Linked DNA regions of Homo sapiens: all the other regions are linked to region 5. Evidence: promoter capture Hi-C in 16 types of primary human blood cells and fetal thymus (Javierre and others, 2016). All regions are on one chromosome and are shown on one strand. Each heading gives the region's core, a stretch centred on a gene start or on the middle of the fragment in contact. The rest is flanking DNA. Distances are from core to core; before and after follow the strand shown. Region 1 has its middle 20 kb from the start of RABGEF1. Region 2 overlaps RABGEF1 (RAB guanine nucleotide exchange factor 1). Region 3 overlaps TMEM248 (transmembrane protein 248). Region 4 overlaps TYW1 (tRNA-yW synthesizing protein 1 homolog). Region 5 holds the start of TPST1 (tyrosylprotein sulfotransferase 1). Region 6 holds the start of RABGEF1 (RAB guanine nucleotide exchange factor 1).

Region 1 (4,539 bases), core at 1,295-3,794, 520 kb after region 5:
TGCAGTGAGCTGAGAACATGCCACTGCACACTCCAGCCTGGGTGACAGAGCAAGACTCTGTCTAAAAATGAAGAAGAAAAATAGTTAAATAGCTGCTTTAAAATCCTGGTTTGGTAATTCCAACATCTGTGCCATCTTGGGGTTGGCATCTGTTAATTATCTTTTTCCATGTAAGATGTTTAGATTTCCCTAGTTCTTTATATATTGGATAATTTTGAATTGTGTTTTGGATGTCTCAAACATAGTGTTACGTGGTTAAATTCTATGGAGAAGTTTAATTTATAAAAAAAAAATAGGCAATGGATTTGGTTAGGTTCAAGCTGCAACTTCCTACCTGCACTCCGTGAGCTGTGGTTACAATGTCAGTTTAGTTCCCAAATACTTCGCAGTATTCAGATATGTCCTGAGTATGTACCACGCAGTGGCCAGCCTGGAACCTGGGGAGTGGTCCATCCTGTAATTTCTTTCTCAAAGCCTGTGCTGTTTAGGATCAAATGCACACACATGCAGCTCAGGGGTGAGCTGAAGAGTTTATATAAATTGTTAATCAAATTGTCATCTCAAGCTCCCTCTTCTCATCAATTTCACTGACACTTTTCAGCTCCCAAGGGCCCCTCCCTAGTCCTTTAACTCTAAAGCCAGGGCTTCAGTTTCTCTGCTCTGCCACATACTTCTTACGACTGCATCTTTCTTCAGTGCCAAGTGGCAAGAGCATAGAGAGAAAGACAGCAACAGGAATCCCTCCAGCACTCTTGGGGCCACAGACTCTTGAGAGAAGTGTTCCCTCGCAGAGCATTTGGTGGTTACCCAACTGCTTTTGCTTGTCTCACCATGTCATGTGATTGCCTAGAAGCTGGGACAGTAGGGAACGGCAATTAACACCAAAAACCAACCAACCAACAAAAACAACATCACAAAAAACAAACTGGGGCTGTCTCCATTCTTCCTGACCTGTAGGGGCCTCCTTTCGCAGTCTGAACCACAAATGGAGAGCTTCTCTTAGAGCTCCTTCTGTCTGTACCTGGTTTACCATCTTAGCCTCCTGAGTAGTTGGGAACCATAGGTGCACGCCACCAAGCCCAGCTAATTTTTATATATATTTTGTAGAGATGGGGTCTTGCTATGTTGCCTAGGCTAGTTTCAAACTCCTGGCCTCAAGCACCTCGGCCCCCCGCAGTGTGCTGGGATTACAGGCATGAGCCACCATGCCTGGCCAAAATTTTTTTTATGTAAATCTTTCTGATAAAAATTTCAGATCCAGATGGCTTGACTGGTAAATCCTTTCAAATAATTAAGGAGGGAGTAATATGAATCCCACAAAAACTTTTAGAAAACATAGAAGACAATACTTCCCAAGTAATTTTATGAGGCCAGTGTTAACTCTGATACCAAAACCAAACACCTAACAAATAGACCAGGAGTCAGCAAACCATGGCTTGTGGGGCCAAACCAGACTATGATTTGTTTCTGTAGATAAAGTTTTATTGAAACATAGCCACATTTATTAAATTACATACTGTCTTTTCCTGTTTTCCTGTTACAGTAGTAGGGTTGAGTAGTTATAGCAGAAGTTATATGGCCTGCAAAGCCTCACATATTTACTGACTTTACAGAACAAGGTTTGCTGGTCCCTGATGTGGACCAGCAGTCTTCATGGAAAAAGATGCAAAAATGCTTTAGAAAGATTAGCAAATCAAACCCAATAAATAAAAGAGATAAAATATCAAGATCAAGTGAAATGCGTCCCAGAAATACAATGTTGCTTTAACAACAAAAACAAAAATAAGTCAATGTAATGCAATATATTAACAGAAGAAAGGTTTAAAATGGCAGGATCATCTCAATACTTGCAGAAAAGAAGCATTTGACAACATTCAACATCCATTCATTATTATTATTATTATTATTATTATTTTTTTTTTTTTTTCTTTGAGAGGGTGAGTCTTGTTCCATTGCCCGGGTTGGAGTGCAGTGGCGCGATCTCGGCTCACTGTAACCTCTGCCTCCCAGGCTCAAGAAATTCTCGTGCCTCAGCCACCCCAGTAGCTAGGACTACAGGCATGCACCACCACGCCCAACTAATTTTTGTATTTTTAGTAGAGACGGGGTTTCGCCATGTTGGCCAGGCTGGTCTCGAACTCCTAGCCTCAAGCGATCCACTCACCTCAGCCTCCTAAAGTGCTAGGATTACAGGCACGAGCTACTGTGCCCACCCCACTGATAATTAAAAAAAAAAAAAATCAGCAAACTAAATATAAAAGGGAACTATCTCAACCAGAAAAAATACAGCTACAAAAACTTAAAGCTAATATTTTAATGGATAAAGTATGAATTGTTTCTCCCTAAGATTAGAAACAAGGCAAGCATGTCCACTCTTGCTGCTTGCATTTAGCATAGTACTAGAGGTTCAAGCTTGTGCAATAATAAAAGAAGAAAAAGTAAAAGACATACCAACTGGAAAGGAGGAAGTAACACTGTTCTTATTGCAGACAACATGATCATCTGTATAGAAAGTCCCAGGAGATATGAAATAAGCTACTAGAACTAATAAGTTAGCAGAACCAAGTGTCAATTGAATTTCCATATGCTAGCTCAAACAATGGGAACTGAAATTTTAAAAACAAAGCCATTATTATTATTATTGTTGTTATTTGAGACAGAGTCTTACTCTGTCGCCCAAGCTTGAGTGCAGTGGCACAATCTTAGCTCACTGCAACCTCCACTTCCCAGGTTCAAGTGATTCTCCTGCCTGAAACCTCCAGAGTAGCTAGGATCACAGGCGCACGTCACCACGCCCGGCTAATTTTTGTATATTTAGTAGGGATGGGGTTTCACCAGGTTGGCCAGGCTGCTCTCGAACTCCCGAGCTCAAGTGATCTGCCGGCCTCGGCCTCCCAAAGTGCTGGGATTACAGGCATGAGCCACTGTGCCCGGCCAAAAGAAAGCCATTAATAATAGTGTTTAAAAATCAAAATACCTAGGAATAAATTTAATAAGAGACATGTATATTAGTGTCTTACTGCTACTCTAACATATGCCATATAGTGACTTAATACAAATTTATTGCCATACAGTCCTGGAAGTCAGAAGTCCAAAGTCAGTCTGTCTGAAATCAAGATGTCACAGATTCGCCTTCTGGAGGCTCTTGGGGGAGATGCTTGCCTTTTTTCACTTCTAGGTGCTGCCTGAGTTCCTTGGCTCATGGCCTCTTCCTCCATCATTAAATGCAACAGTGCAGCATCATCAAATTCCACCCCCTTTGCTCTGGCACTTATCTCTGCTTCCATTATCACATCTCTTTTTCTGACTCTGACCCTCCTGCCTCCCCCCTTATGAGAAACTTTGCAGTGGGACCTATCCAGATAATCCAGGATAATTTCTCCACCTCAAGATCCTTAATTTAGGCTGGGTCCAGTGGCTCACGACTCTAATCCCAGCACTTTGGGAGGCCAAGGCGGGCAGATCTCTTGAGCTTGGCAGTTTGAGACCAGCTTGGCCAACGTGGTAGAACCCCGTCTCTACTCAAAACACAAATTTAGGTGGTTTGTCTTTTTACTTCCTTGGTGCTTTGAAACAGAAAGTTTTTGGCCAAGTGGGGTGGCTTATGCCTGTAATCCCAGTGCTTTGGTAGGCTGAGGTGGGAGGATCACTTTGAGGTCAGTAGTTCAAGACCAGCCTGGACAATATAGTGAGACCCCCCCTCCGTCTTTTCAAAAAATCAAAAAAATTAGCTGGGCATGGTAGCACATGCCAATATACCTGATGATGTCCCAGCTAGGCAGGAAGATCACTTGAGCCCAGGAGTTCAAGGTTTCAGGGAGCCATGATTGTTTCACTGCACTTCATCCTGGGCAACAGAATAGGACCCTGTCTCAGGGGCTGGGTACGGTGGCTCACGCCTGTAATCCCAGCACTCTGGGGGGCTGTGGTGGGTGGGTCATGAGGTCAAGAGTTCGAGACCAGCCTGGCCAACATGGTGAAACCCCACCTTTACTAAAAATACAAAAATTAGCCAGGCGTGGTGGTGCGCGCCTGTAATCCCAGCTACTCAGGAGGCTGAGGCAGGAGAATCACTTGAACCTAGTAGACGGAGGTTGCAGTGAGCTGAGATTGTGCCATTGCACGCCAGCCTGGATGACAGAGCAAAACTCCGTGTCAAAAACAAAAAGACAAAAAAACCCTGTCCTTACAAAGAAAGAACAAAGGAAAAAAGAAATACAAAGTTTTAAATTTTGATGAACTCCAATTTATGAAGTTTTTCTTTTATTACTTGTGCTTTAGGTGTTGTATCTAAGAAAACCATTGCCTAATTCAAGGTCACAAAGATTTATGCTTACCTTTTCTTCTAAGAGTTTTGTCGCCTTAGCTTTTATATTTGGGTCTATAAAACATCACTACTATGATGTTTTCATTATTACAGGTTTGTAGTAAGTTTTAAAGTCAAGGAGTGTGAGTCTTCCAATTTTTTTCTTTTTCAAGATTGTTTTGTAATTCTGCATTTCCGTATGAATTTTAGAATCAGCGTGTCACTTTCTACAA
Region 2 (4,223 bases), core at 914-3,413, 590 kb after region 5:
CCAAACCAAATGGAGGACAGATACTCCCTCTACGGACAAGATACTCATGGAAGAAGTCAAGTTAGAAGAGCAGCTGAAGGAGGCTGTAGAAGAAGATAAGCAAGCATTGGCAGATACTGAGGACTTGCAGCAGATCAGCCAAAAATTGGTGGAGGAGGCAAATATGTATAGCATTCAGGGCTTCTGCAAGGACTCGTTAGAGGTTGCAGATGTTTTGGAGAAGGCAACACAGTGTGTTCCAGAAGAAGAAATTAAAGACAATAACCCTCACCTGAAGAACCTCTGTGAAACTCTCAACAATGAGTGGAGTCCAGATTCAGGAAGTGTTCAGCAAGCACTGCCAAGCTGAACCCTGTCAGAGCCAAGTTCCACCCTTATGCGCATGAGGTCTTTTTTTCGTCTTTCTTCACATGCGACAGGCAATGTGCCAGTGTTGTAACAAGGTTTGAGGGAGGCATATCTCACACATGAAAACCCAGCGTGAAAACCCAGTCATCACACTTATGAACTACAGGAAGATCTAGCATGAGGTCTTGTTCCACATGCTGGTTTAGGGGAAAGAGCTGAGCCCAGTGGTTCTAGTTACAAAAGTGAGGTTCAAGCATGGGCAGCCCCTTAGCGCCGCCCTTGTTGATGAGGTGAAGGAAGCTTAGCTGCCTCTTACAAGATTTTCTTTTCTTTAAATCACTTGCCGTAGTTCATGAAAAGCTGGTTGATGTTTTTTCATCTAAATACTTTTGACTTTCCCTAAGGCTGTTGGAAAGCAGAAGTAACCAGTAGGTAAACAGAAAAGTAAGCTGATCTCACAGTTGCATTAATGAACTCCTATTCAGGAATGTGTTCTCTGATTTTTAGTACCGCATGTTTAATAATTCCACTTACTTAGTAAAAAAGGCCAATAGGACACTACAGGTCTTCTAGAGTTCATGAATCACGCTGTATCTGCTCAGACTCTAGTGACATCAAAGTATTTTAAATGAACAAAATGTCTTTGGGAATTCTGCTTTTTGGCAATCTGGACCCTTCTGTCTGCACTGTGTGTCTCTTGTGCAACTTGTAACATGGGAGTTACTGGATTTCTTAGCCCACTACACATTTCATTCAATAAAGGGAAAGCAAGGGTTGAAACATTTCTTACGCTAAAAATAATTTCATGATGACCTTTATGAAGAACATATGCGTTCCTTAGACACTGTCTAGCTGCTAAAAATGACGGATTTCTGGCTTTTTTGTTTGTTTTTGGAGATGCAAAATGAGCATATGTATCTTAACGGTTCCCATCACCTTTATTTTGCCAGTAATTGAATTTGACACAGTTAGTTTTGCCCTGTTTTCTTCATCTAAATGTGGAAATGTTTAAGTCTGTATTCTACTAGTTACTAATGACCTCAAGATATACTCCCTGGTGAGATGGACTTTCTCAGAATATGAGGACTGCATGCTTGGCACACTTTAAATGTGTGTTTCATTTTTAAAGAGGATTAAAGCCCTCATATGGTTCTTTTCCTTTAAAAAATTATTGAAGGCAGCACAAATTGGTAATACAAAAAAATATGGACATGAAAGCTAATACCTAAATAGATTAAGCAGTTAACAGCAGTACAGACAAAACTTAATGAACCCATAAAATAGAATGTGGCAATTCACATTGAAATGATGGAAGTTCTGGATGAAATACACAGAAAACATAGGCAAGGAAAATAGTCAAAGGTTTTCAAAACTGGAAGTGGAAACAAAGATCTCAGCCAGACTGTTAAGAAAGTGTATAGAGTGCCTCTCAGCATAATGTTCAAAGATAGACATCCACTTGTCAATGTCTTAATCACAGAGTAAAAATTTATTTTAGAAAAATAAAACGACAACTTTACTCAGATGTTATAGAAAAGATGCCAGGTGCGGTGGCTCACGCCTGTAATCCCAGCTCTTTAGGAGGCCGAGGAGGATGGATCACGAGGTCAGGAGGTCAAGACCAGCCTGGCCAAGATGGTGAAACCCTGTCTCTACTAGAAATAAAAAAATTAGCTGGGCGTGGTGGCACATGCCTGTAGTCCCAGCTACTCGGGAGGCTGAGGCAGGAGAATTGCTTGAACCTGGGAGGCGTAGGTTGCAGTGAACTGAGATCACGCCACTGCACTGCAGCCTGGCGACAGAGCGAGACTCCATCTCAAAAAAAAAAAAAAAAGATTATAGAAAAGATGATCCCGTACAATGATTAGAGAGTACTTGAGGTAAAGGATTTACTCACTGCTCTACTATCTTTTTTTCTTGGAAAATTATGACAAACCTTTTGGAGTTTTGTAGAGCCTAAAAGAACTTACCAACACAAACCTGCCCTCACTTTGCCCCTTTGGCAAACACTGTGAGGGGCCTGAGAGTTACCTTATTTGCAGGCTAACAAATTAACCTGCCATGGTTTCACAGATACTGGCCAAAGACACGAGTCTCCTGGGTCAGAGACAAAGGCCAGTTTCTTACAGCAGTAGCAGTAGCCAGAGCATTTGCATTTGTGCTTATCCCCGAGTATCTGTTCCTATAGGATAATGCAGAGAAGACCAGGGAAAGCCTGTGCATGCAGTGAGTTGTATTAGAGGAGAGGAACCTTGGATTTAGGGATCCTTATTAGACAGTAAGCAGTCTACCCTTTTCTCTTGAAGGAGGCACTATCTCTGTCTCCTAAAGCTGTTTTCTATAAAGAAATCCTTGAAAAGATGTTGCAAAACAAAGGCAGTCATTGCCTTTGCTCACAGATAGGTAGAAAGAGATCTATGGAGAATTGTCTTCAGCATCTTATAAAGGGAGGAATGGTAATAAATGGCCACATTTATTCATTCAACCCATACTGAGCACTAACCCTGTGCCTGGCCTTGTTCTAGGCATGAGGATATGGTGGTGAACAGTGCCCTTGTGGAGCTAACATTTTAGTTGGGGAAATGGACAATAAGCAGATCTGTAACATAGTGTTAAGTCCTACAAGAATGGAAAGCAGGATGAGAGACAGTGGCAGGGGTGAGTTCTTTTACATTATGAAAGCAATACTGTACTGGAGCATAAACTGCAGTAGAAATAGAAAAGGAGTTTTCGGCATTGTATTGTAAAATTACAGGGGTTGTGCTGGGCTGGGGGAGGAGAATATGATCCCTTGACACCAGTAAGACAGGCCTCTCGGGTCTCTAAAAGGAGCTCAGAGAGTTTCTAGTTGGAAGCGAGCACTACAGGTTGAGTATCCCTTATCCGAGAGCCTTGGGACCAGAAGTGTTTCAGATTTTGGGGTTTTCCCAGATTTTGGAATATTTACACATATATAAGATAACTTGGGACTGGGACCCAAGTCCAAACACAGAATTCATTTGTTGAATATATGCCTTACATACATAGCCTGAAGGTAATTTTATACCACATTTTAAGCAGTTTTGTGCATGTAACAGTTTTGGCTGCTTTTTGACTCTAGCCCATCATCACATGAGGCCAGGTGTGGAATTTCCCACTTGTGGTGTCATGTCGACACTGACAAATTTGGGATTTTTGAGCATTTCAGATTTTTTATTTTTGGGTTAGGAATGCTCAAATCTGTAGTAATAATCACAAGAATGAATATAGTTTCTTCTAAGTTAAGTGCTAAAATTTGGTGCAAATGAAAGGTGTAAAACCATGTGTAAACTACCTAAAAAGATTGAATGGATAAGCTTTTGCATAAAATACTTGAAGTAGAAGGATAGATTTGAGCACTGCAGTGTGTGCATGTATATGGGTAACTAGTTGACAGTAACAAGGGCTGCAGTCAAGGTGATCACAAAGTGCCATGAGTGCTTGGCCATTTTTACTGAGGGAATGAGGTGACTGCTCCTGACCCCAAGTGTCCTGCCATCCTTTTAGAGTTAAGCCAGATGGTCAGACTGCTGTGGGCTTCCACAGGATGTATCGGCCCTTGGCGTGTGAGGTCAGTGGCCTGTGTAGATGAAGTCTGTGACAGCCCGTCCTGGGGGTTTGTTCTCGGCCTTATTCATGTTCTTCTACTGTGACATCCTTATGAGAACCGTTGGGAGAAATTTTTGATTTTGGTGTCAGAATTTCACCCGAATAATTTGTTTGCTTTCATCTTTTGAACCCTGAATTACATAACTGTTTTCATCCTAGTGATGGTTGCTAAAAAATTTAGTTAGAGACAGATGTATGGGCTGACTCTTGACTAATTTAGACATCTTCCAGGAAAACATTTCTGTCTT
Region 3 (4,425 bases), core at 1,329-3,828, 740 kb after region 5:
ATAATCAAGGTATGGGTGACTTCTGGGTTTTCCATGTAGCAAGTGGACCTGTTGCTTATGGCATGGCATAAGGACACCTTCGGGATTTTTTGTTGTTATTTTGAGATGGAGTCTCACTCTGTCGCCCAGGTTGGAGTGCAGTGGCACAATCTTGGCTCACTGCAACCTCTGTCTCCCGGGTTCAAGCGACTGTTCTGCCTCAGACTCCCGCGTAGCTGGGATTATAGGTTCGTGACACCATGCCCAGCTAATTTTGTATTTTTAGTGGAGACAGGATTTTACCATGTTGGCCAGGCTGGTCTTGAACTTCTGACTTCAAATGATCCGCCCGCCTCAGCCTCCCAAAGTGCTGGGATTACAGGCATGAGCCACCACGCTTGGCTATTTTTTAATTTTAATTTTATTTTAATATTTTAATTTTTTATTTTAATTTAATTTTTATTTAAAATTTTATTTTAATTTTGAGACTGGGTCTTGATCTGTCGCCAGGCTAGAGTGCAGTGGTGTGATCATAGCTCACTGCAGCCTCAAACTCCTGGGCTCAAGTGATCCTCCCTAGTACCTGGGACCACAGGTGTGCACCAGTACACCTGGCTGATTTTTAAAACTTTTTTGTAGAGACAGAATCTTGCTGTCATGTTCAGGCTGGTCGTGAATTCCCGGCCTCAAGCAATCCTCCTGCCTCAGCCTTCTAAAGTCAAAGTGCTGGGACTACAGATGTGAACCACTGTGCCTGGCAATACGTTGGTTTTAGTTTAAGCTTCATCACTTGCCTTTCTTAACTCTGAAACCCTCTGACCTCTGTTTGTTCATATGTAAAAGGGGAACAGCTGCACTTCTTCAGTCATGTTCATGGGAGAGTAGTAAATTTTAAGTGAAATAATACATATAAAAGATGTTTGAAAATGGCTAGACAGCTGTGCAGAAATGCTGGGGATAATTCACCCAGCCCGAGCTTTTCATCTCTGATCTGCCCGAGGTCTGGTTTGGCATCTCCAGGCCATGTACTGGAAAGTGGCCACTTCCTTCGCTGCTTCGTGGCTCTGAGTTGAGTAGGACTCATGGTCAGGGTCAGGACTGCTCTTCTTCCTCAGATCCCACAAAGGCAGGTGCCTGGGCTGATAGATGATTCCTGTGTGGGTTTGATTTCAGGATTTATTTGTATCCCAGAGAATGACAAGTACGTGGTTCTTGACTTTATAAAAAAATGATTTCTCTTTCATAGGCAGGGAAGCCCACGAGGAGATAAACATCACCTTCACCCTGCCTACAGCGTGGAGCTCAGATGACTGCGCCCTCCACGGTCACTGTGAGCAGGTGGTATTCACAGCCTGCATGACCCTCACGGCCAGCCCTGGGGTGTTCCCCGTCACTGTGTAAGTGTACCCGGCACCTGATGAACGTGCGTAACAAGCTCCACTTGCCGTGAGTACGGCTGGGCTGCTTCAGCTGTAAATTCTCAGGATGGCTCACTTCACATTTCTTTATAGAATTATCTCTACTCGGACCTATCTAAAGGATTATTTAATTTGTCTAAAGGATTATTTAATTTGGAATTCTAAAGATAGAACTTCTGCATATAAAATCAGAAAGTTAGTGCCCCCTCGAGGCAGTAAAAGCACCTGGCTGTTGTTGGACATTCATAGGCTGTCTTTCCCGCAGGAGTAGAAGCAGCAAGTTACAGAAAAGAGGCTCACTGTGGCCGGGTGCCGTGGCTCAGGCCTGCGATCCCAGCACTGTGGAAGGCTGAGGTGGGAGGATCACTTGAGCCCCGGAGTTCAAGACCAGCCTGGACAACATATAGGGAGACCCTGTCTCTATTTAAAAAAAAAAAAAAAGAAAGAAAAAGAAAAAAGAAAAGAGGCTCTCTAAAGATAAAGGTTTTCAGCCAGGTGCGGTGTCTCATGCCTATAATCCCAGCACTTTGGGAGGCCAAGGTGGGCAGATCACCTGAGGTCAGGAGTTCAAGACCAGCCTGGCCAACATAGTGAAACCCCATCTCTACTAAAAATATAAAAATTAGCCAGGCATGATGGCACATGTCTGTAATCCCAGCTACTCAGAGGCTAAAGCAGGGAGGCAGAGGTTGCAGTGAGCTGAGATCGCGCCACTGCACTTCAGCCTGGGCAACAGCAAGACTCTGTCTCAAAAAAATAAATAAATCAAATAAAACAAAGATAAAGGTTTTGTTCATCTCCATTATCCAGAAAGATATTTTAAAATCGTTGATTTTAGTTTATCTTGATTTTAGTTTTAAATCAAGTATAAATCAAAACTTATTTTCTGTTAATTAACTAATTTTAAAATCTAACATTTTAAATCATTTCCCATTAAACAGTTACTTTAATTTTACCTGCGAATTTGAAAATTAGTTTTAAAATCAAATATAAATTGAACTTTATTTTCCATTAAACAATTAAGGTTTTTGAAGCTTTTCCTTCAGTGTTTTTGAGCAGCATTCAGTGTTACTGCTTTGCATTTTAGGTTTTTTTTGTTGTTGGTTTTTTTTGGTCTCTCCTGTCTCTATAAAGGAGATAATTATCTATAAATAAATAGGTGAAATACATAAGATATAGCCTATTTAAAATAATTCTATGGTGAATCCTTTTTAAATAAGAATTATCTCAGGATTTGTCTATTTTAGACATTTGGAGGTTTGTAGGACAAGATCAGATTAAGTTAAACATTACTTTGTGTTGCAGTGACTGATATAGAATTTTGTAGGTAAAGCTTCCAGTTGTAACTAAGTGATATGCTTTGGGCTGGGCGCAATGGCTCACACCTGTAATCCCAGCTACTTGAGAGGCTGAGGCAGGAGAATCAGTTCAACATGGGAGGTGGAGGTTTCAGTGAGCCGAGGTCACACCGGCCTGGGCAACAGAGCAAGACTCCGTCTCAAAAAAAAAAAAAAAGATGATATAGTTTGGCTGTCTCCCCACCCAAATCTCGTTTTGAATTGTAGTTCCCATAATCCTCATGTGTCATGGGAGGGACCCAGTGGGAGGTAATTGAATCCTGGAGATTGTTACCCCCATGCTGCTGTTCTCATAGTAAGAGAGTTCCCATGAGATATGATGGTTTTATAAGGGGTTTTCCACCTTTTATTTGGCACTTCTCTTTGCTGCCGCCATGTGAAGAAGGATGTGTTTGCTTCCACTTCCGCCATGCTTGTAAGTTTCCTGAGGCTTCCCTGACCATGCTGAACTGTGAGTCAATTAAGCCTGTTTCCTTTATAAATAACCCAGTCCCGGGTATGTCTTTATCAGCAGCATGAGAAAGGACTAATATACTAAGAGTTTAGCTCATTTGAGAAGATAGGCTTAAAAGGAGCTTATGTGCTTTGCATCACATGTGAGAGGACTGTAGGCTGAATTCTGAAGGCAAAAATCCAACACCCAAACTCCTAAATGTCAGGCACCTATTTATTTTTCTGTTATATTTTTATTTTTTAAAAAAGACCCTCAAACTAAAATATAATGGTATTTATCTCAAAGAAGCATGAACGTGTAAGTTACATTTTTCCTTTCCATGTGTGTTGCCGTGTTCAGTGTTTTACCAGCTGCTGTGGGGGTGACACAAGTGAATGACTCAGGCCACTGAGCACGTGTCTTTCCTCCTCCTCTTCTCCTGCAGACAGCCACCGCACTGTGTTCCTGACACGTACAGCAACGCCACGCTCTGGTACAAGATCTTCACAACTGCCAGAGATGCCAACACAAAATACGCCCAAGATTACAATCCTTTCTGGTGTTATAAGGGGGCCATTGGAAAAGTCTATCATGCTTTAAATCCCAAGCTTACAGTGATTGTTCCAGATGTAAGTGAGAAAAATTGTGTGTGTGTGTGTGCGTGCATGCATATGCACATGTGTGCGCATGTGCTGCAACCGTTGGTGTAGGCCCTGCTGACTTCCCTGGGTAAGCGTATCCTCTGCCACTTTAGATTTCCAGGTGAGTTAGGACACTAGGCGGAGTGGTGGATGCTTGGAAAAACATGTTACCCATTGGTTAAGAAAAATCTGGTTTTTCTCTTCATTTTCTCTGTTGTTCAGCAGCAGTTATTTCTTGAGCAACTGCCTAATCCCTGGGGGGGGTTACAAGGGATCCTTCTATTAATATTATCTTAGAGGGATGTTCACAGACGTTCATAGAAGACTATCTAGTTAGTGTCCGTGTGAACAAGAAATAGTGCTGCTTAGAGTTCTGAAAGATAGAAGGGAGTAGTAGGAGGAGATGAATCTTCGGCTAGAGAGTGAGGCCTGAATAGGATTTAACTTAACCAAGAGGCAAGGGGAACAAAATACTTACCTATCTCATCTAGTAGCTGTGTGCTGCTAGCTCAGCTTCCTACTTAGACTTGAGCCCACTTACTTTTTTAGAGACAGGATCTTGCTCTGTCGCCCAGATTGGGGTCTAGTGGCGCAAT
Region 4 (4,157 bases), core at 1,246-3,745, 800 kb after region 5:
CCTTCGCTTATGAAGCTTAATTTGGCTGGATATGAAATTCTTGGTTGAAATTTCTTGTTTTCTTTTTTGAGACAGAGTCTTTCTCTGTCACCCAGGCTGGAGTGCAGTGGTGCGATCTCAGCTCACTGCAACCTTTGCCTCCCGAGTTCAAGTGATTCTCCTGCCTCAGCCTCCCGAGTAGCTGGGACTACAGGTGTGCGCCACCACATCTGGCTGATTTTTGCATTTTTAGTAGAGATGGGGTTTCACCATGTTGGTCAGGCTGGTCTCCAACTCCTGACCTCAGGTGATCCACCCATCTTGGCCTCCCAAAGTGCTGGGATTACAGATGTGAGCCACCATGCCCTGCTTGAAATTTCTTTTCTTTAAGAATGCTCAATATAGGCCCCAATCTCTTCTGGATTGTAGGGTTTCTGCTGAAAGGTCCACTGTTACCCTGATGGGATTCCCTATGTAGCTGACCTGCCCCTTCTCTCTAGCTGCCTTTAACATTTTTTCTTTCATTTCGACTGGAGAATCTGATGATTTTGTGTCTTGGGGATGGCCATCTTACGTAATATCTCACTGGGGTTCTCTGCATTAAATAAACCTTTTTAAAACATAGATTGGGCTAGGCACAGTGGCTCACGCCTATAATCCCAGCACTTTGGGAGGCCAAGGCAGGTGGATCACTTGAGACCAGGAGTTTGAGACCAACCTGTGCAACATGGCAAAACTCTATCTCTACAAAAAATTCAAAAATTAGCCAGGCATGGTGGCATGTGCCTGTAGTCCTAGCTACTTGGGCGGCTGAGGTGGGACGATTGCTTGAGCCCAGGAGGTCAAGGCTGCAGTAAGCCGTGACTGTGCCACTGCACTTCAGCCTGGGTGACAGAGTGAGACCTTGTCTCAAAAAAATAAAAGACATAGATTACCCAGTCTCAGGTACTCCTTTATAGCAAAATGGACTAAGACAGTGTTTCTGATTCAGTACCACTTGGCCCTCTTCTGACTCCAGTGTACTCTCAACTCAGCAACCTCAGTGACTGTTTGAAAACTTAGGTGAAGTCACGTCATCCCTCTGCTTAAAACCCTGCACTGACCCCTTCATTCAAGAGTCAATGCTTGAGTCCTCACAGTGGCCCAGAGATCCTACACGTGTGGCTCTTTGTTAACTCTCTTACCCCATCTCCTTGGTTTCTTTTTTTTCAGTCTTAGTAACCTCCTCTGGGCCTTTGCAGTTCACTGTTCCTGCCGCCTGGGATAACCTCATGGTTCTCCCAGTTCCTTTGGCTTTGGCTCAAATCTCACTTTATCCTTGTGTTAGTCTGTTTTGCATTGCCATAAAGGAATACCTGCAGCTGGGTAATTGATATGGTTTGGATCTGTGTCCCCACCAAATCTTACGTCGGATCGTAGTCCCATTGTTGGAGGTGGGGCTTGGCGGGAGGTGCTTAGATCTTGAGGGCAGATTTTGCATGAGAGGTTTAGCACCATCTCCCTTGTACTGTCCTCGTGACAGTGAGTTCTCATGAGATCTGGCTGTTTAAAAGTGTGTGGCACTGCCTCCTTCTCTCTCTTGTTCCTGCCATGTCATGTGCCTGCCCCTCCTTTGCCTTCCACCAATATTGGAAGCTCCCTGAGGCCTCCTCAGAAGCAGATGCCGTTACACTTCCTGTACAGTCTGCAGAACTGTGAGCCAATTAAATGTCTTTTTTTTATAAATTGCCCAATCTCAGGTATTTCTTTTTTCCTTTTTTTTTTTTTTTTTTTGAGATGGAGTCTCACCCAGTTGCCCAGGCTGGAGTGCAGTGGCGTGATCTCGGCTCACTGCGGCCTCTGCCTCCCAGGCTCAAGCGATCCTTCCACCTCAGCCTCCCAAGTAGCTGGACCACAGGTATATGCCACCATGCCCAGCTAATTTTTTGTATTTTTGGTAGAGATGGGGTTTCACCATGTTGCCCAGGCTGGTCTCGATCTCCTGACCTCAAGTGATCCGCCCGCCTTGACCTCCCAAAGAGCTGGGATTACAGGCATGAGCCACCATGCCCGGCCAGGTATTTTTTTTATAGCAATGCAAGAATGGACTAATACTGTAATTTATAAAGAAAAGAGGTTTATTTGGTTCATGGTTCTGCAGGCTCTACAAGCATGGTGCCAACATCCACTTGGCTTCTGGTGAAGCTTCAGGAAGCTTCCACCCATGGAGGAATAGGTACCACATGGTGAGAGAGGGAGCAAAACAGTAGGGAGAGATGTGAGGCTTTTTTTTTTTTTTTTTTTTTTTTTTTTTAACAGCCATCTATGAACTAATAGGGCAAGAACTCAACACCAAGGGGAGGGCGGCAAGCTGAGGTAGGAAAGTAGAGTCTGGAGACAGAGCCTAAGGCCAACCTGTGGCTGACGTCCTTGAATTAAACTGAAAGGAAAGCTTTAGCCTCTGATGGGCTGTGGGCTAATTCTTTATTTGCATATGGTATAACTCCACTGCAGCCTCTGATTGGCCATGAGCCAATTCTTCATTTATATAGGGTGTAACCAATTGGAAGCCTCCCAAGGATACCTGGGGGTGTTACCAAATTCTTCTAGCTTAATAAAAACCTAAGCTTAATAAAAACAACTGGAGCTCTTGAGCCACTTGCTCAAGCCTGCTTCCTGACTGTAGAGTGTACCTTCCCATCAATAAATCTGTGTTTTTGTTGCTTCGCTTGTTGCATTTTTTTCAGTTCTTTGTTGAACATGTGAACAACCTGGACAACTCCTAGGCAAGACCCTCCACTGGTAACAAAGCCACTCCTGAGGGACCCACCCCCATGACCCAAACACCTCCTATTCGAGCTCACTTCCAACATTGGAGATTACGTGTTAATGATATTTGGAGGGGACGAATATCCAAACCGTATCAGTCCTTGAGGCCTGCTGCAGTACTGTTTTCTGACCCCCAAATACCTTTTCTCTTTTTTTTTGAGATGGAGTCTCGCTCTGTCGTCCAGGCTGGAGTGCAGTGTGGCACGATCTCGGCTCACTGCAACCTCTGCCTCCTGGATTCAAGCAGTTCTCCTCCCTCAGCCTCCCAAGTAGCTGGGATTACAGGTGCCCACCACCACTCCTGGCTAATTTTTGTATTTTTAGTAGAGATGGGGTTTCACCATGTTGGTCTGGCTGGTCTTGAACTCCTGACCTCAGGTGATCTGTCCGCCTCGGCTTCCCAAAGTGTTGGGATTACAGGTGTGAGCCACCACGCCTGGCCAACCTGTCCTTTTTCTATACCAGTTCTCATGCTTACTATTGGGAGTTATCATTAGCCCACAAGACTGCCCCCACTTCAGACACCAGTCACAAGTCCCGGCTTTAAATTTAGGGTTCTGCACCACTGCCTCCTCAGGTTCTATAGGATGACTCACAGACCTCAGGAAGTTGCTTGACTTATGTTTAGTGGTTTATCATAAAGGATGCAACTCAGGAACGGCCGAATGGAAGAGCTGCACAGGGCCAGCTATGGAGGGGTGGGGGTTGAGCAGGGCTTCCAGGCCGTTTCTGGCCGTGTCTTCTCCCCAGCACATTGGTATGTTCACCAAGTCAACAGTCTCCATTGTTCAGGGGTTTTTCTTGGAGGCTCCATTACATAGGCACGATTGATTAAATCATTGGCCTTGGTGATTAAACTCAATCTCCAGCCCCTCTTCTCTCCCTAGTGTTCCCTGTTGGGGCTGGGGTAGGAGGTGCTGAGTTTAACTTCTCATCAGTTTCTCTGGCAACGAGCCTCCATCCTGAAGCTATCTGAGGCCTCACTCCAGTAAGCCATCTCATTAGCGTACAAAAGATATTCATTCCATCTTTTGTTGTAGTGGCTGCTCCCAGCCTAGAGCTTCTCTGGGGTTCTGTTAGCCCTGTGAACTCTTCCCTAGGACTTTTTCCTGTCTGTCAACCGGCTTCTTTTCATGTTTCCCATTCTTTTCACTCTTCACTCTTTCTTTTATTTTATTTATTTATTTATTTTGGAGATGGAGTTTTGTTGCCCAGACTGGAGTGCAATGGTGCAATCTTGGCTCACTGCAACCTCCGCCTCCTGGATTCAAGTGATTCTCCTGCCTCAGCCTCCCGGGTAGCTGGGATTATAGGTGTGTGCCACCACGCTTGGCTAATTTTGTATTTTTAGTAGAGACGGGGTTTTACCA
Region 5 (4,277 bases), core at 1,128-3,627:
TCCCAGCTACTGGGGAGGCTGAGGCTGAAGAATCACTTGAACTCGGGAGGCGGAGGTTGTAGTGAGCCAAGGTCATACATACCATTGCACTCCAGCCTGGGCAACAAGAGCGAAACTCCATCTCAAAACAAAAACAAACAAACAACAAAATTGCTGTCTACCATCTTATAGTCAGTTTTCTTATCTATCTCTGTGTGTGTGTGTGTATACACCCACACACATATATACACACACACACATATACACACAAACACACACACACACACACATATATATAATTATTATTTTTTTTTTTGGGTGAGAGGCAAGGTCTCAGTCTGTCACCCAGGCTGGAGTGCAGTGGTGCCATCATGGCTCACTGCAGCCTAGAACTCCTGGGCTCACGGGACCCTCCTGCCTGGGTTTCCCAAACTGCTGGGATTACAGGCGTGAGCCACCACACCCAGTCAGCTGATTATCTGTAGAAGGAGATATCATATGTACCTTAGACAGTTGCTGTAAAGATCAAATGAGGTCCACACAAAAACTTCTTTTTTTTTTTTTTTTTGAGACGGAGTCTCACTCTGTTGCCCAGGCTGGAGTGCAGTGGCACAATCTTGGCTCACTGCAACCTCCACCTCCCGGGTTCACGCCATTCTCCTGCCTCTGCCTCCCGAGTAGCTGGGACTACAGGCGCCAGCCACCATGCCTGGCTAAATTTTTGTATTTTTAGTAGAGACGGGGTTTCACCGTGTTAACCAGGATGGTCTCGATCTCCTGACCTTGTGATCCGCCCACCTCGGCCTCTCAAACTGCTGGGATTACAGGCGTGAGCCACTGCACCCGGCCACACACAAAAACTTCTACACAAATGTTCATAGCAGCATCATGTATAATAGCCAAAAAAGTAGAAACAGATGTCCATCAATGGATTAATGGATAAATAAAAGATGATGTCCAGCCAGGCACGGTGGCCCATGCCTGTAATCCCAGCACTTTGGGAGGCCAAGGCAGGCAGATCACTTGAGGCCAGGAGTTCAAGATCAGCCTGGGCAACTTGATGAAACCCCGTCTCTACTAAAAATATAAAAATTAGCCAGGCATGGTGGCACATGCATGTAATTCTAGCTACTTTGGAGGCGGAGGCATGAGAATCACTTGAGCCCAGGAGGTGGAGGTTGCAGTGAGCCAAGATCACATAACTCCACTCCAGCCTGGGAGACAGAGTGAGACTCTTCAAAAAAAAAAAAGGTGATGTCTGTATAATGGACTATTATTCGGCCGTAACAAGGAATGAAGTGCCGATACATGCTACAACATGGATGAACTTTGAAAATATTATACTGTGTGCAAAGGAAGGTAGTTACCTTCCCGGGTTCAAGCAATTCTCCTGCCACAGCCTCCCCAGTAGCTGGGACGACAGGCGTCCGCCACCATGCCCGGCTAATTTTTGTATTTTTAGCAGGGACGGGGTTTCACTATGTTGGCCAGGCTGGTCTCGAACTCCTGACCTCAGGTGATTCACCAGCTTTGGCTTCCCAAAGTGCTGTGATTAGAGGCATGAGCCACCCCACCTGGCCTAGCAGAGAGCAATTTTGAATACAGCTGTTAGATTCTGCACTCATGCCTTCTCTAATCCATGTCACTGGAGTAGAAATAATTGCTTTGACAGAACCTGGTGTAGATGTGTCTGTAGGAAGAAACTGTAAAATGAATGGATCATTTTGTGAAATATCTGCCCTTTCCCCACCTTTCTTTTGCTTCTTTGCCTTTTTCTCCCTAGTTTTCATTTCTTTCTTTTAGGGCGTCAGCCCCCCACCTCTGTGGTTGGGAGGGACTATTGCACGTCTACACTCTCGTGGGGATGAAATAGTGTTTGAGTTCGTTATTTGCATTTGCGCGTTATCTCCCCGAGGAGATGACAGCTTCTCTGCCAGCAGCGGGCAAAGGTGGGCTCTGAAGCAGAGGAGAGGAATTATCAGGAAAAGCTCATTTTCTTCTCCTGTCCTAGGGTTTCACTGATGAAGGCCTCTGGGACACCCACGTTGGGGGTGGGGGCGGTGAGGACCGCCACCTGCCCGCGGCTCCCCTGCAGCCAGGCCACGCGCGCTGTTGCTAGGGCAACCACCCGGCCAGGCCTGCGGCTGCCGGGAAGCCCCCTCGGGAGCGCGCACGGGAAGGGCTGTGGGGGCGCTGGCCGGCTGCGACGTCAGACCCCCGCCCCTCGGCGCCTGCCGGACCCAGCTCCATTCCCAGCCGCGCCTCCTTCGGTGGGCAGCCGGCCGGAACTCACGAATCAGAGCAGCCGACACATCGTCCGCTCAGCCAATCGTAGCAGATGTGTGATCCCGCCACCTCCCCGGACCCTGGCGGTTGTCGCTGAGTTGGCGACCGCGGGAGACGCTGCTGAGGCGGCTTCGGTTGCGGGTCGGAACGGCGCTGCTCTGCGGGGCCGGTCCAGGCTGGCAGCTGCCGGCGCTTGGCGGTGAGGGCGGGCTCCCGAGTGGCCCCCCACCGAAGGCGGTGGGACCAGCGGCTGAGGCCAGGATGCCGTCCAGGCGGCGCGGCGGCTCCTCACTCATCCCAGGTAAGGGGGACGCGGCGCTCGCTGCGGCTCCGCTCCCCTCTCGTCTCCTCACACCCGGCCCTGTGCCCCGTCCTGGCATCCCTTGGCCCCTTGTCGCCTTCTGCTCGGTGCCTCCCGGTTGTCCAACCCCGCCCCCGAGCGCGGAGCCCCGGGTCTGGCCCGTCCGGCCCCTGCTCCCACGCCCCTTCCCCCATCGCCGGCATTTCCCGGGCTCGGCTTCGCCCCGGCCGCCGGGGCCTCTCCCCTCTGCCCTTTCTCTCCCTTCTCGCAGCCCTGGGACCACGTCCTAGCCCCGCAGTCCCCTGGGATGAGACCCTCGTCTCGCCGGGATCGGACATTTGCCCCCACGTCTACCCCGGCTGCGCTTCTTGAGCTCATCGCCCCATCATCCTACCCGTTGTACGTAGTCCTGTCTGCATGGCAGTCGCCCGCCCCGCTCCAGGTGTCCCTGGGTCTTGCCCTTTTGCTCCTAAGCACCTTCCTTTCCCAACTCGCCTCTTCTCCCCTCACTTTGACCACCCACCATCGCAATCTCCTCTTCCTTCTCTTACTCTTAAACCTCCAGACACTTTCCCACTCTCTGCAATGCCGGATTCATCGCTTTTTTTTTTTTTTTTTTTGAGAGATGGAGTCTCTATGTTGCCCAGGCTGGCTTCGAACTCCTGACCTCAAGCTATCCTTCTGCCTCGGCCTCCAAAGTGCTGGGATTACAGGCGTGAGCCACTGCGCCTGGCTCAGATCCATAGTGTAATATCTTCATTCGTCCTTACATGAGCTGCACCCCATAACATGTAAAGTCCCTTGCCCAGAGTCTAGCACACAGTAGGCCTGGCACATGGTGGGTGGTCACGCATGTTAGCCTCTTCCTCCTTCCAGGCGTTTTGTACTTTCCAGATGATGGTAGCAAGAAGTCCAGTGTCCACAGGGATTTGACTCTGCCTGAAGAATGGTATGGGAGATGGCAGGAGAAATTGGTGAACTCCAGTAAAGCGATTAAATGGTCAATTACTGCATTCATTAAGAAGAAACAATTCTGCTATCCGTGCCATGTATTGTTTTATGTTAATTGCCTTTGTAAAGGATTCTTAGGCTGCTAGTCAGCAGGCTTTGCGGTGTAATTACTCCCCATCCCCTCTCCATCCCCATCTGCAGTGTTTGGGTAACTTTCTTTTTAGGAAAGAAAGAGCCCCTACCTCCCAGCTAAAGTGGCATAGTATATAAGCAATGTGGTACGTGTTTATCTATTAGCTGGATAGTCCAGGGAGCTGCAATGAATTTTCATCTTTTAAGATCCAGGAGGAATCAGGATTTGGATTTCCTGGAATCAGCTGCTGTACAGACCAAATATGCTTAAGAATGAAACTTCTGACAAGTCCTCTAAGAGTGAGAGAGGAATTATCCACCCCTCTCCCTCCCCCTCTCCAAACACTCGCTCTTGGAGGAAATAGCGAGTCGATTTTTAAAAAAGAGTAAAATACGTTTGACTTTTTAAAATGATAAAAGCATTGTCATTGGCCCTGTACTATTCTTGCCACCTTTGCTCTGATGGTCTCAAGCCTGGACGAATCAGTCAGCTTTTTCTGCTCCTGGGCTCCCAAGGCAGACTGGCAAAAATCATATAACTAAACTGCTGGGTGCTGTTTCTGCACTTCTGGATCCTGGAGATCCTTTGACTTAACCTCTAGATTCCTCTTATGTCCTAAAATCTAAA
Region 6 (4,353 bases), core at 279-2,778, 540 kb after region 5:
TTCCCAAAGTGCTAGGATTACAGGCGTGAGCCACTGCGCCTGGCCTTACTTTTGTTTTATACTCTGTTGTACCCTCAGCGTAGCACACATTAGGCACTTAGGAAGAATCTGAGAAACGAATCAGTTAATCCCTACTTTACCAATAATGAATAAAGACTGAGAAACTCGGGCCGGGCGCAGTAGCTCACACCTATAATCCTAGCACTTTGGGAAGCCAAGGTGGGCGGATCACTTGAGGTCAGGATTCAAAACCAGCCTGGCCAACATGGTGAAACCCTGTCTCGACTAAAAATACAAAAAAAAAAATATGAGCTGGGCGTGGTGGCGGGTGCCTGTAATTCCAGCTACTTGGGTGGCTGAGGTGGGAGAATCGCTTGAACCTAGGAGGCGGAGGTTGCAGTAAGCCGAGATCGCACGACTGAACTCCAGTGTGGGCGACAGAGTGAGAGTCTCAAAAAAAAAAAAAAAAAAAAAAAAAATAGACTGAAAAATTACGCAACCTGTCCAAGAACACTACAGCGACAATTAGCAAAGCTGGGATTTTAACCCAGGTCTATCTCACAGCCACAGCATAGTATTTTCTTTTTTTTCTTGCTGTGACTGCACGTTACGCCATACATGGCATTCAGGACGCAGAGGAATTAGTATTTACTGTTTTTAACATTCCTTACATGGGAATCACGTAAAGAATCAGGTAAACAGGATTCAATTTGTGACTCAACCATTAATACTTTGTGACACTGGCTAATTTATTTCACTTCTGGATGTCGGTTATGTTTTTTTTGAGACAGGATCTCGCTCTGCTGTCACCCGGCCTGGAGTTCAGTGGAGGGATCTCTGCACCGTCAACTTCCTGGGCTATCAAGCGATCCTCCCACCTCAGCCTCCCTGGTAGTTGGGACCACAGGTGCCCGCCATCATGTCCGGCTGATTTGTAAAATTTCTTTTGTAGAGATGGTGACCTTGCTCTGTGGCCCAGGCTGGTCTCGAACTCCTGGACTCAAGCGATCCTCCTGCCTGGGCCTCCTAAAGATTCAGCTGCTTTTGGATCAACCGATCGCCTTAAGACCTTTTAACTCGAACACCTGTCACATCCTAGGATCCGCGAAGGACTGAAACAGAGTTTCTGAAGCGTCCCTCGGCGCAGTAGCTCCGCTCCACCTCCCATTCGCGCTACCACCGCGGCCGCAGCCCCAGGAGTCGCCGCGGAGCCAGCGTCGCCCTCCAGCTGTTGCGCGTCGGAAGCCGGAAGCAGGGACTGAGCGACAGACTAGGAAACGCCGGTTTCTCCGGGGCTCCCCAGCGCCCCACCTTTACCCCGGAGGCCGCCCTCTTCCATTTGCTCTTGGGCGTCAGGGCGGTACCCCACTCCGCTCGACCCTTTGGATCCACTCGCACTTCCTCCCGTCCAGAGTCAAAGGCCCCGGAAGTGACGTTTACGCGCCGCGCGTAACGTGCGTTCGCTGGCGGTGCCGGGGGCGGGGCGAGCAGGAGGGTGGGTGTGAGGCGGGAGCTGGCCGCGGAGCCCAGACCTACCCGGGCGAAGCGGGCGAGCGGTGGTTTGGACGCCGGCGGAGACGCGGGCGAGGTACGGAGCGGACGGACTGGGGCTGAGAGCTGCTCGGCTCTCAGCTACAGGAGCGGGGCGGCGGGGCGTCTCGGGCTGGGGGTGGCAGGGCGGTCGGTCCGTGCCATCCGCGCGGCTGGGGCAGTTGCGCGTCGGTGCCTCCCGCTGTCCTTCGTCCCACATTCCGTCTCCGTCAGCGCCGCCTTCCCCGTTCCAGGCCGCCCTCGGCTCCCTTAATCCTCAGAGTGCGGCCTCTCCGTCCCAGACGCTAGTTGCCGGGATCTCCAGCGCCAGCCGAGCCCCGACGGCCTGACGCGGAGCATTTCCTGGCCGCCTCCCTCTCCGGCGGCTCCCCTCGCCCCGGCTCCCACCTTCCGTCCAGGCCGCTGGCTCCGAAGCAGCGTCTGTGGTCGCACGGGGCCCCTCCCACAACCTCCCCGGAAAGCGCTGGTATGGGACGCTCGGACCCAGACCACAGCCCCCGGCCGCGGCAGGGGCGCGGGGACTTGATCCCACGTCACCCTAGGGGGCAGAAGTGTCCCGGAGTTGGGAGGGGATTTGAAGCCTGTGGTCCTGACTTCCACCCCGTGGCTGAGGGCGAGGCTGCGGGGCCGGGGTTAGGAGCAGAAGTCCCTGCTTCCGAACCGTCTGGGAGGAGAGCCGAGGGATGCCCATCACGGCAGTTTAGGGAGAGAGAGGGAGGGACTCTGCCGCTTTGGAGGCTAGGTCATAGGCAGCTGGCGGTGTCTCAGCGCGGGTGACCAATCCTTGCGGTTGGGAAATGTGTCGTGGGCGCCCGTGGGCTCGTTTTGCCTTTGAGATTAGGTAGGAAATTTTCCCAGGACGAGTTTACCGGAGCACCTTGGGAGTTGGTTTTTGGCCTGGAGAGCTGCTTTCCCCCCTCTAAACCTAGAACTGCTTTGTTTTTATTTATTATTTTTTTCGACATGGGATCTCACAGTGTTGCCCAGGCAGGTGTGAAACTCCTGGCCTTAAGTGATCCTCCCGCCTCGGCCTCCCAGAGTGTTGGGATTATAGGCGTGAGCCATTGCGCGGCTTTAACTGCTGTTAAAGAGTGTGTTCCGGCCGGGTGCGGTGGCTCACGTCTGTAATCCCAGCATTTGGAAGGCCAAGGCAGGCGGATCATGACGTCAGGAGCTTGAGACCATCCTCCCTAACACGGTGAAACCCCGTCTCTACTACAAATAAAAAAAAAAAAGAAAAAGAAAATTTGCCGGGCATCGTGGCGGGCACCTGTAGTCCCAGCTACTCTGGAGGCTGAGGCAGGAGAATGGCATGAACCCGGGAGGCGGAGGTTGCAGTGAGCCGAAATCGTGCCACTGCACTCCAGCCTGGGCGACAGAGCTAGACTCTATCTCAAAAAAAAAACTAAGAGTCTGTTCCTTAAAATTGTTGTACCAAGAAACTTGCCAGAGATGCAAGAAAATGTGATTATATTGTTAATATTTAATGATAAATAACATTTTGCTTTTAAGAGTCACTGATTCATATCCGCAGGATTAAGAAATGTTCAGGATTTGAATTTTTAATGACCTTCCAAGCAGTCATGTTTCTGCTCTCTAGAAGTTAGCCAGTTGAGGAGAAGGGACAGTCAAGATACTTTCAAAACAGTGTGGTAAGGAATGTGAGCTAAGATGGAGCACCGAGGAAGGAGCCGGGCATTTAGGCCATGCTGTTGGGTGTGGAGCCTGGAAGGGATCAGGGAATACTTTCTGCATGTGTCTTGAAGAATGACTAACATTCAGACTAACAGGGTGGAGTGAGGGAGAGGGGGGAATCAAAGGAGAGGAGGCCAGTAACTACAAGGAGGTGCCTATTAATTTATTTATTGAGAGAGAGGGTCTCACTTTGTCACCCAGGCTGGAGTACAGTGACACGATCACGAGTCACTGAAGTCTCAACTGCCTGTGCTGAAGTGATCCTCCCACCTCAGCCTCCCGAGTAGCTAAGACTGCAGATGCGTGCCACCACACCCAGCTGATTTTTAAATATTTTGTAAAGATGTTGTCTTGCTGTGTTGCCCTGGCTGATCTCAAACTCCTGCACTCAAGCAATCTTCCTGCCTCAAGCGTCCCAAGTGCTGAAATTACAGGCATCAGCTACCGAGCCTGGAGGGTCGTTACTAAAGTGAAAAAGTGCAGGACAGAGATGTAGGAGCTCAGGCTTCCTCTGATGGTGACAGAACCAGGGGAAGTTTTTTAGCTGGGTCCTTGTGTGGTTAAAATGGGTCTCTCTGGCCAGGCGCGGTGGCTCACGCCTGTAATCCCAGCACTTTGGGAGGCCGAGGCGGGCGGATCACGAGGTCAGGAGTTTGAGACCAGCCTGAGCAACATGGTGAAACCCCATCTCTACTAAAAACACTAAAATTAGCTTGGTGTGATGGCGCCTGCCGTAATGCTAGCTACTCAGGAGGCTGAGGTAGGAGAATTGCTTGAACCTAGCAATTCTAGGAGGTTGTGGTGAGCCAAGATTGTACCAATGCACTCCAGCCTGGGCGACAGAGCGAGACCTCGTCTCAAAAAAAAGAAAAAAATTTAAAAAAAAAAAAAAGGCTCTCTCTCTCTCCCTGTCTCCCAGGCTGGAATGCAGTGGCAGGAACACAGCTCACTGTAGCCTCCACCACCCATGCTTAAGCTATCCTCTTGTCTCAGCCTCCCAAGTAACTGGGACCACAGGCCTGCCACCTACTAATTTAGCTTGCCTGGCTAAATTTTTTTTTCTTTTTTTGATACGGAATCTGGCTCTGTCGCCCAGGCTGGAGTGCA

Evidence for each region. Contacts are between HindIII fragments. The CHiCAGO score rates a contact against its expected background, and 5 or more counts as called.
Region 1: a fragment that was not itself captured here is called in contact with the fragment with the promoter of TPST1 in region 5 in 1 of 17 cell types (M1 macrophages); the score reaches 5.2 in M1 macrophages.
Region 2: a contact is called between a fragment that was not itself captured here and the fragment with the promoter of TPST1 in region 5, in 1 of 17 cell types (M2 macrophages). The highest score is 6.4, in M2 macrophages.
Region 3: a fragment that was not itself captured here is called in contact with the fragment with the promoter of TPST1 in region 5 in 1 of 17 cell types (total CD8 T cells); the score reaches 5.8 in total CD8 T cells.
Region 4: a fragment that was not itself captured here is called in contact with the fragment with the promoter of TPST1 in region 5 in 4 of 17 cell types (total B cells, naive B cells, M1 macrophages and 1 more); the score reaches 9.0 in total B cells.
Region 6: a contact is called between the fragment with the promoter of RABGEF1 here and the fragment with the promoter of TPST1 in region 5, in 1 of 17 cell types (naive B cells). The highest score is 5.2, in naive B cells.

What each region holds. Positions count from the first base shown.
Region 1 is chr7:66,718,283-66,722,821 of GRCh38, forward strand. It overlaps a transcript of RABGEF1 not described here. Among named protein-coding and RNA genes, the nearest start is that of RABGEF1, 20 kb to the right of the region's middle. The HindIII fragment of the contact is 269 bases long and covers 2,411-2,679 here.
Region 2 is chr7:66,789,945-66,794,167 of GRCh38, forward strand. The region is part of intron 4 of RABGEF1 (RAB guanine nucleotide exchange factor 1); the gene reads left to right. It also overlaps the pseudogene GRPEL1P2 and the pseudogene LOC124901840. Among named protein-coding and RNA genes, the nearest start is that of RABGEF1, 51 kb to the left of the region's middle. The HindIII fragment of the contact is 3,035 bases long and covers 647-3,681 here.
Region 3 is chr7:66,947,319-66,951,743 of GRCh38, forward strand. It overlaps TMEM248 (transmembrane protein 248), which reads left to right. Exons shown (of 7, transcript NM_017994.5): 4 at 1,226-1,376; 5 at 3,634-3,817. Among named protein-coding and RNA genes, the nearest start is that of TMEM248, 28 kb to the left of the region's middle. RefSeq lists an enhancer at 3,084-4,283. The HindIII fragment of the contact is 299 bases long and covers 2,430-2,728 here.
Region 4 is chr7:67,004,706-67,008,862 of GRCh38, forward strand. The region is part of intron 3 of TYW1 (tRNA-yW synthesizing protein 1 homolog); the gene reads left to right. Among named protein-coding and RNA genes, the nearest start is that of TYW1, 10 kb to the left of the region's middle. The HindIII fragment of the contact is 175 bases long and covers 2,409-2,583 here.
Region 5 is chr7:66,202,957-66,207,233 of GRCh38, forward strand. TPST1 (tyrosylprotein sulfotransferase 1) reads left to right here and starts at 2,378. Exons shown (of 6, transcript NM_003596.4): 1 at 2,378-2,566. RefSeq lists silencers at 2,001-2,270, 2,421-2,780. The HindIII fragment of the contact is 8,515 bases long and covers 1-4,277 here.
Region 6 is chr7:66,739,205-66,743,557 of GRCh38, forward strand. RABGEF1 (RAB guanine nucleotide exchange factor 1) reads left to right here and starts at 1,529. Exons shown (of 9, transcript NM_014504.3): 1 at 1,529-1,588. RefSeq lists enhancers at 1,143-1,192, 1,206-1,872 and silencers at 1,323-1,592, 1,613-1,752. The HindIII fragment of the contact is 9,271 bases long and covers 1-4,353 here.